2 separate regions of the Homo sapiens genome follow, and region 2 is linked to region 1. Evidence: promoter capture Hi-C in 16 types of primary human blood cells and fetal thymus (Javierre and others, 2016). All regions are on one chromosome and are shown on one strand. The core of a region is centred on a gene start or on the middle of the fragment in contact, and the rest is flanking DNA. Distances in the headings are between cores, read along the strand shown.

What was found. The method cuts DNA at HindIII sites, captures the fragments that hold promoters and counts their contacts. A CHiCAGO score of 5 or more calls a contact.
Region 2: a contact is called between a fragment that was not itself captured here and the fragment with the promoter of ATP6V0A1 in region 1, in 1 of 17 cell types (erythroblasts). The highest score is 5.2, in erythroblasts.

Annotation. Positions count from the first base shown.
Region 1 is chr17:42,456,393-42,460,787 of GRCh38, reverse strand. ATP6V0A1 (ATPase H+ transporting V0 subunit a1) reads right to left here and starts at 1,910. Exons shown (of 22, transcript NM_001130021.3): 1 at 1,825-1,910. RefSeq lists a silencer at 1,841-2,050 and an enhancer at 2,201-2,290. The HindIII fragment of the contact is 8,228 bases long and covers 1-4,047 here.
Region 2 is chr17:42,196,123-42,200,517 of GRCh38, reverse strand. STAT5B (signal transducer and activator of transcription 5B) reads left to right here. Exons shown (of 19, transcript NM_012448.4): 19 at 1-1,341. Among named protein-coding and RNA genes, the nearest start is that of GHDC, 3.8 kb to the right of the region's middle. The HindIII fragment of the contact is 317 bases long and covers 1,586-1,902 here.

The sequences.
Region 1 (4,395 bases), core at 661-3,160:
CACCCCACTACGGCTCTTGCATTTACATTTCTAACACCCCATGAGGACAGGTCAACAACTGTTTTTGACACCCTGTCTAGAAAGATGGAAAGGAGAAATTGCAAAGGCAGTTCCTGAATTCTGTCCCACAGAGTGTCAGATGAAAAGTCACTTCCATTCCAGTCAACATCAGGATCAAATGACAATTATTTTGGGCAACTCAACTGATAAGAATGTATCCAGATTAAAGACAGGAACTGGGAACCTCAAACAACTCTTTAAATACCCAGGACACAATATTGAGGCAGTGAGTTTCACACTGCTCAATCTGTTTTTGCTAGTGCAGGAAACAAACAGAAGAGGCCTTCAATACCCTCTCATAAAGATGTCTGCCTTGTAACTATCCTTCTCCCTTCTACTGACAATGCGCATTTCTAAAAGCCCAAAGTTCTGGCACTATCCTAAAGCTATGGCTACACTAAAGGGTTTAATCTTCCAGATTCCTCAGAAAACAATATTTCCCCACTTAGGAATTCAAACAAATAACCGTCATCTGGAAAAAGCAACCAGTTTGCATATTAAGCTCAATTTCAAATCAAGCATGACAGGAACACACTGATAATGACAAAGCAGTTTTATCAAGCCACAGAGAATAAGCCTTCCACCTCTGCAGCTTTCTGTTTCTCAACCCTACCTTCAAGATTAATTACATTCTTCCATCTGTCAAATCTCATGAGCCAATAAAGGTTTCGTTTTAGTGCTGTCTTACTGTTGCCGGGTATGAGACAACTGGCGCTATCAGTGGTCCTGAAACTGCAATTATTTATTCTCGATCAGCTAATGTAAGGCACAGCCTGTCCAGTATCCAAACTCAGAAAAATGCACAGTATTTTTAGTGTCATAAGGGCATCTATACTGAGTACTGATAGATGAGTCTGACATCAAAGGAAGATTTACTCTTCTGGAAGGCTGGGAGACATTTTGAGAAATCTGAACGAACAAACCTTTGTGCATGTGATGTTCAAGACAGTAACACAAGCTCAGACATAAGCAAGGACTTCTCAAGAGAATATGCAGGCTGACTTTAAGATTCTGTACATCTGAATCATCCAAATCAGCTGTTACCGGCACCACCCTTAAACAAAGAGAGATTCTACAACCTCTAAACACATAAAATTAGGCCTGGTCAGCATAGTTCAGGAGCTGTGGATAATGATAAGCCTCCAACGAGTCGCCTCCGTCCTCCTGCTCTTTAATGATTATAGGTCTCCCAAGAATATCTCTATAGCAATGGAGGCTAACAGAAAACTAATTAGGCCAAAGTAGTTCTGGACGATCACAAAACAAAATATGAAGAAACAGCAATTCTGCAAAAGATGAGTCCAACTACAGCGCCCCCGCGCCCTGCCTAGAAGAATCTCACTCCTGTCATCCGGTCCTCGCCTCCTCCCACGGTATTCACCTGCTTCATTTCCTGTCTACCCAATGAGCAGGAATTCTCTGGACTCAGGCTCATCTACCTTGAGATGGGAAAAAAGGAGAGGAAAACCCCCAAACTGAGAAACCCTTTAAGAAGCCCCCTAAATTCTTCTGCCTATCCAATAACCTCCGGTTCCTCCGCCTACCCCTTAAAGCAGGGAAGAGATGCGGGGCTTCCAAAGGGCAGTGAGCCTCCGGTTCCTCAGGGCAGAGGAGGGGTGCCCAAGGAGGGGGCGAACCCCCATTTTATCTCGAAGACGTCAGATCCCCGCTAATTCCTCTGACAATCAAGGGGGCTCTTAGAAGGATTTCCTACGTCCATCGAGGGCCGCTCCCTGTTGCGCTAAACCTACAGCCCCCACTCACCTCCAAACTCCGCCACAGCAACCGCCACAGAAACCACCGCAGCCAAACCCGCACCCTCCGCGGCTCCAGGAGCAGCGCTTCGACGTGCTTGCGTCCGTAAAGCCCCGCCCCTGCGCCGCCGCCGGCCCCCGCCCCCGCAATGACCTCATTGCAGTTGGCCAATGGGGCGCAGCCTCGCCCGGGCTGCAGCAGTGCGGAGTCACGGGGGTCGCAGGCGAGACCCAGCGTGCTGACGCCATGTTGGCCCCTGTGCTGTATCTCCACGCTGGGGAGGGTTAGCGGGTGGGGCTGGAGGTGCAGGTGCTCGAGGCCTTAAGTTCCTGAGCCTCCCTGAATCCTTTTTCTTACCCCTTATACTGGGGTAGGTTGTCTTTTCTCTTTCTTTTTTTTTTTTTGAAGTCTCATTCTGTTGCTCAAGCAGGAGTGCAGTGGCGTGATCTCGGCCCACTGCAACCTCCACCTCCCGGGTTCAAGCGATTCTCCTGCCTCAGCCTCCCAAGTAGCTGGGACTACAGGCACGCACCACCATGCCCGGCTAATTTTTGTATTTTTTTTTTTTTTAAGTAGAGACGGGGTTTCACTATGTTGGCCAGGCTGAGTCTCGAATTCTGACCTCGTGATCCACCCGCCTCGGCCTCCCAAAGTGTTGGGATTACAAGCGTGAGCCACCACGCCCGGCCTTTTTTTTTTTTTTTTTTTTTTTTTTTTAGATGGTCTGTTTCCCAGGCGGGAATGCAGTGGCGCGTTCTCGGCTCACTGCAGCCTCCGCCTCCCGGGTTCAGGGGATTCTCCTGCCTCAGCCTCCCTAGTAGCTGAGATTACAGGCACGCACCACGCCACCCGGCTATTTTTGTATTTTTTGTAGAGATGGGGTTTCGCCATGTTGCCCAGACTGGTCCTGGCCTCCACCCGCCTCGGCCTCCCAAAGTGCTGGGATTACAGGTGTGAGCCACCGCGCCCGGCCCTCTCTTTATTTTCATATCCAAAGAATTAATTCACACATACGCACCCAAATAATTAATGTCTTCTCTCTTTATTTTCATATCCAAAGAATTCACACACACACTCAAATAATTAATACGCAGACACATATACCACCCTTTCTCTTTTCCCTTATTTTACAGATGAGAACATTTGAGCCCCAGACTGGGGAGCGGCTAGCTTTAGATCCTGTAGTAGAGTCTTTAACGGGGTCTCATTTGCATAAGTATGGAAAACCTCTCTTTAAATGGTACATGGTTCATGCCTTCCAGCAACTTCCCCGGGTCTATTTTTCTCTGTTTAACAGGAAAAACCTCATCAGACCATATGTTGTGAAAGTACATTTCAGTCTTGTTTGGTAGATTCATGTGGGCTCAATTGACCACTTAGGAGTTTTCAATTCCTCAAATTTATTTTAAAAACATTTTTTATGGCTTGTACTCAACTTGTAAATTAAATATTGAAAAACATTTTTTAAACGCAAAAGTGATGTCTATTATTTTTTAAATGCCATTATCAAATATTGATATTGATTCCCTTTTCTTGCCCTTTTAAAGAAGAGTAGGGATCTCAAGTCGTTTGTGATAACCAGAATTGTATCAGGAAAAACTCAGAAAACCGGTTATTCTGTCTTCCTGGGTGGTGGAACCCTGTTGAAATTCAAGTGTAATGAGGGAGATATTCCAGATAAAAACTTGTTGCTGATAATTTTGTCAACCTGACAAAAACATCATCAAACCTGCTTTACCAGCCTAAACAAAATAAGGGGACAAAAATGGACGTTTTATTTGAATTTATTGTCTCATATTGTGAGTGAAGATATAACCTGACTTCAATACAACCTTCTTAAGACACAGAGTCTTGGAGAGACCCATACCCTCCTTCTCCCTGCTCCCTAGCTCTCAACCCTTCTGGCAAGACAGATCGGGACCCACATTTAAAAGCCTGCCAAGTTAGAGAAAACTGTTACACAATATCATTTCCTTCCTCTGAGACTTAAAAAAAAATTAACCTCAGTCAGCTGCTTGCTAACCACAAATTTTTCATACTCCACTTTTAAGACAGCCTTTCCTGTGGACTTACTTCAATTCCCTTGAACTCTTTTCACGGCTTCTTTGAAAGAATATTGTTTCAGAACTCCTTTTCTGTTTGCTTCCATCTCCTGCCATCAATCTTTCCTCAGTGTTCTATTTATTTTCCCTCCATGCTGTCTTCCTTGATGGTCTTGAGTGTTGTCAAGCTTAAACGTTTATGTGTAGGACTCTTATCTGTTTTTCCACCTGACTTCCTTCTTCAAGACTCAGAAATGGAATTTCATACTGCCTGCTTGATAGTGCCTTTTAGGCAGCAGATGCTTGCTGAGGGCCTACTGTGTGCCAGAGAGGGGTACTAGGTGCTGGGGATAGAAAATGAAACAGACATGCTTCTTATCCTTGGAGAGCTCATGGTTCAGTGAGAAAGAAACTTCCCAAATGGCAAGAGAGAGAGGAGTGCAGTGATTAATACTTACTATGTGCCAGGCACTTTTCTACATGCTTGGTAAATACAAACTCATTTAATCCTCACAACAACATTAGGAGGCAGTTACTA
Region 2 (4,395 bases), core at 495-2,994, 260 kb after region 1:
AAATGCAGTCAGCAAGTTTGCTGGGGAGTTTGATAAAAGTATAAAACAAAACAAAAAAAGCCTCGGTATAATTTTGTTCCACGACTTCTTCTGTAGCTTTACACCAGAAGGAAGGAATGGGCTACAGCAGGTAGTGGAGGAAGAGGGGGGTGAGCAGGTGTATTAAAATAGCTTACGGGTAAGGCCTAAAAGGTCACCCCTCGGCCCCCTCTCCAAAAGAAGGGCATGGGCACCCCCAGGAGAGGATGGCCCCAAAAACCTTATTTTTATACATGAGAGTAAATAAACATATTTTTTTTACAAAAATAACTTCTGAATTTATCAGTGTTTTGCCGTTAAAAATATTCCTCTATAGTAAATTATTTATTGGAAGATGACTTTTTTAAAGCTGCCGTTTGCCTTGGCTTGGTTTCATACACTGATTTATTTTTCTATGCCAGGCAGTAGAGTCTCTCTGCCTCTGAGGAGCAGGCTACCCGCATCCCACTCAGCCCCTCCCTACCCCTCAAGATTTGATGAAAATTCCAACCATGAGGATGGGTGCATCGGGGAAGGGTGAGAAGGAGAGCCTGCCTGCTCAGGGATCCAGGCTCGTAGAGTCACTCCCTGCCCGTCTCCCAGAGATGCTTCACCAGCACCTGCCTCTGAGACCTCGCTCTCTGTTCCAGCAACCCTGGTTGGGGGGTCAGACTTGATACACTTTCAGGTTGGGAGTGGACCCACCCCAGGGCCTGCTGAGGACAGAGCAGCCAGGCCGTCCTGGCTCACTTTGCAGTTGGCACTGGGTTGGGGAGGAAGAGAGCTGATGAGTGTGGCTTCCCTGAGCTGGGGTTTCCCTGCTTGTCCAGTTGTGAGCTGTCCTCGGTGTTACCGAGGCTGTGCCTAGAGAGTGGAGATTTTTGATGAAAGGTGTGCTCGCTCTCTGCGTTCTATCTTCTCTCTCCTCCTTGTTCCTGCAAACCACAAGATAAAGGTAGTGGTGTGTCTCGACCCCATCAGCCTCTCACCCACTCCCAGACACACACAAGTCCTCAAAAGTTTCAGCTCCGTGTGTGAGATGTGCAGGTTTTTTCTAGGGGGTAGGGGGAGACTAAAATCGAATATAACTTAAAATGAAAGTATACTTTTTATAATTTTTCTTTTTAAAACTTGGTGAAATTATTTCAGATACATATTTTAGTGTCAAGGCAGATTAGTTATTTAGCCACCAAAAAAAAGTATTGTGTACAATTTGGGGCCTCAAATTTGACTCTGCCTCAAAAAAAAGAAATATATCCTATGCAGAGTTACAGTCACAAAGTTGTGTATTTTATGTTACAATAAAGCCTTCCTCTGAAGGGATGGTATTGAGTCCTGTTTTTACTTTTTTCTGTCACATGCCAAGGGAGGGCAGCTTGAACACGGAAAAGTTTCAAGTCATCAGCGTGACCCTGAAAAAGGGAACTGGTTGGGTGGTTGGGAGTTGGCTGCCTCAGAGGGCACGTCATTAGCTCTGATGGCAGATGGGGCCTTTCATACCTTCCTGCTCATATGATGTTTTGAAAATAAGAATGATGGTCTCCTAGCCTCCTGACTCCAGAAAGCTTGTTAGCCAGGATGGTCTCGATCTCCTGACCTCATGATCTGCCCACCTCAGCCTCCCAAAGTGCTGGGATTACAGGCGTGAGCCACTACGCCCGGCTGAAAGCCTGTCCTTAAGATTCAGCACATTTAGAGTACCTGACCCTGAGTTCAGCGTTGTGTGTGGGATGAGAAATGGTGCCTTCCCTGCAGAGGCTCACAGTTGGAGAAAGGCAGCTACCACAACTGATTATGCTAGGATATCGCTTCCTGCTGCAATCAAGGCATCCCAAAGTCATTATGCAAAAGAACATGCAGGAAGGCCACTGAGCAACTCAAGCTTTTTTTTTATTTTATTTTTTTATTTTAATTGAGTAGCTGGGATTACAGGCGCCACCACTCCCGGCTAATTTTTGCATTTTTAGTAGGGACGGGGTTTCACCATGTTGGCCAGGCTGGTCTGGACCTCCTGACCTCAGGTGATCCACCTGCCTTGGCCTCCCAAAATGCTGGGATTACAGGCGTGAACCACCATGCCCAGCCTGGAGCTGGCTCTTAAGGAACAAATAGGGCCGGGCACGGTGGCTCATGCCTGTAATCCCAGCATTTTGGGACGCCAAGGCAGGTGGATCACCTGAGGTCGGGAGTTCGAGACCAGTCTGGCCAACATGATGAAACCCCGTCTCTACTAAAAATACACAAAAATTAGCTGGGCGTGGTGGCACGCGCCTGTAATCCCAGCTACTTGGGAGGCTGAGGCAGGAGAATCGCTTGAACCCGGCAGGCAGAGATTGCAGTGAGCCGAGATCATGCCATTGCATTCCAGCCTGGACAACAGAGCAAGACTCTGTCTCAAATTAAAAAAAAACAAAAAACCCAGCCATTCCACTTGTAGGTATCTACATAAGAACCATGAGAACATATATGTACAGAAACACTTGTGACAAATGTTCATAACAGCATTATGCATAATAGCCAAAGGGCAGAAACAACCCAAATGTCCATCAACTGATGAATAAACAAAATGTATTATGGTATATCTGTACAATGGAATATACGGCAATAAAAAGGAATGAAGTGCTGACACACAGGACATGATGTTGTCACGGATGAACCTTGACAATATCATGCTAGATGAAAGAAGCCAGGCCGGGCACGGTGGCTCATGACTGGGACTCCAGCACTTTGGGAGGCTGAGGCGAGGGATCACTTGAGTGCAGCAGTTCAAGACCAGCTTGGACAACACGGTGAAACCCCATCTCTACAAAAAAATACAAAAATTAGCTGGATGTGGTGGTGCACCCCTGTAGTCCCACCTACTCAGGAGGCTGAGGTGGGAGGATCACTTGAGCTGTGATCATGCTACTGCACTCCAGCCTGGGTGACAGAGCGAGGAAAAAGAAAAGAAGCCAAGTACAAAAGACCGCATATTATATGATGCCATTTATAGGAAATGTCTAGGATAGGCAAATCTATGGAGACAGAAAGTAAATTTGAGGTTGCCTAGAGGCTGGGAAGGAGTTTGGAGGTAATAGTGAAAGGATACAGGGTTTGGGGGTTTTTTTGTTTTGTTTTTTTTTTTGTTTGTTTTTCTTGAGACAGAGTCTCGCTCTGTCACCCAGACTGGAGTGCAGTGGCGCCATCTCGGCTCACTACAACCACTGCCTCCCAGTTTCAAGCGATTCTCCCACCTCAGCCTCCCAAGTAGCTGGGATTATAGGCGCCGGCCACCAGACCCTGCTAATTTTTGTATTTTTAGTAGAGACAGTGTTTTGCCATGTTGGCCAGGCTGGTCTTGAACTCCTGACTTCAGGTGATCCACCTGCCTTGGCCTCCCAAAGTGCTGGGATTATAGGTGTGAGCCACCACGCCCAGCCTGAGTTTGGGGTTTTTTATTTTATTTTATTTTATTTTATTTTATTTTATTTTATTTTATTTTATTTAACGAATTGGGCAGTCTCCTGAGGCACAGTAGGCTCAGAGAGACTCTGCAGGGTTTGTTTTTGAGGTAAGGAAAATGTTATTATCTGTGGTGTTGGTTGCACATATCTCTGGATATACTAGATCTTGAATTGTACACTAAATGGGTGATTTGTATGGTGTGTGAATTATATCTAATAAAGCTGTTACTGGGCCAGGTCTAGTGGCTTACACCTGTAATTCCAGCACTTTGGAAGGCCAAGGTAGGAGGATCGCTGAGACCGGGAGTTCCAGACCAGTCTGGGCAACATAGTAAGACCCCCTGTCTCTACAAAAAAAAAAAAAAAATGTTTTTAATTAGCTGGGTGTGGTGGCACATGCCTGTAGTCCTAGCCACTCAGAGGCTGGGGTAGGAGGATTGCTTGATCCCCGGAGTTCAAGGTTGCAATGAGCTGTGACCAGGCCACTGAACTCCAGCCTGGACAACAGAGCAAGACCCTGTCTTTAAATAAATAATAAAAGCAAATGCAAGATCTCAGCGAGAAAAAACGTGAAAGTGAGGTGAGTTAGCCAGAGTGAGAACAGACCTGTTGAAAGAAGCTCAGCTGTGAAGGGAAGAGAGGTGCTCAGCAAGTAGTAGCTCTCTTCTCAAAGGTATCCAGAGGCAAGTAAGGGGAGAAAGGGAGTGGTTTTAGTGTTTTGAGAGCCTAGGTCAAGAACACACCAGCCTGGGCAACATAGGGAGCTCTCTCGTCTCTACAAAAAATAAAATTAGTTGAGCGTAGTGGTGCGTACCTGTAGTTCCAGTCCCTTGGGAGGCTGAGACAGGAGGATCTCTTGAGCCCAGGAGGTTGAGGTTGCAGTGAGCTATGATCGCACCACTGCACTCCAGCCTGGGCAATAGATCAAGACCCT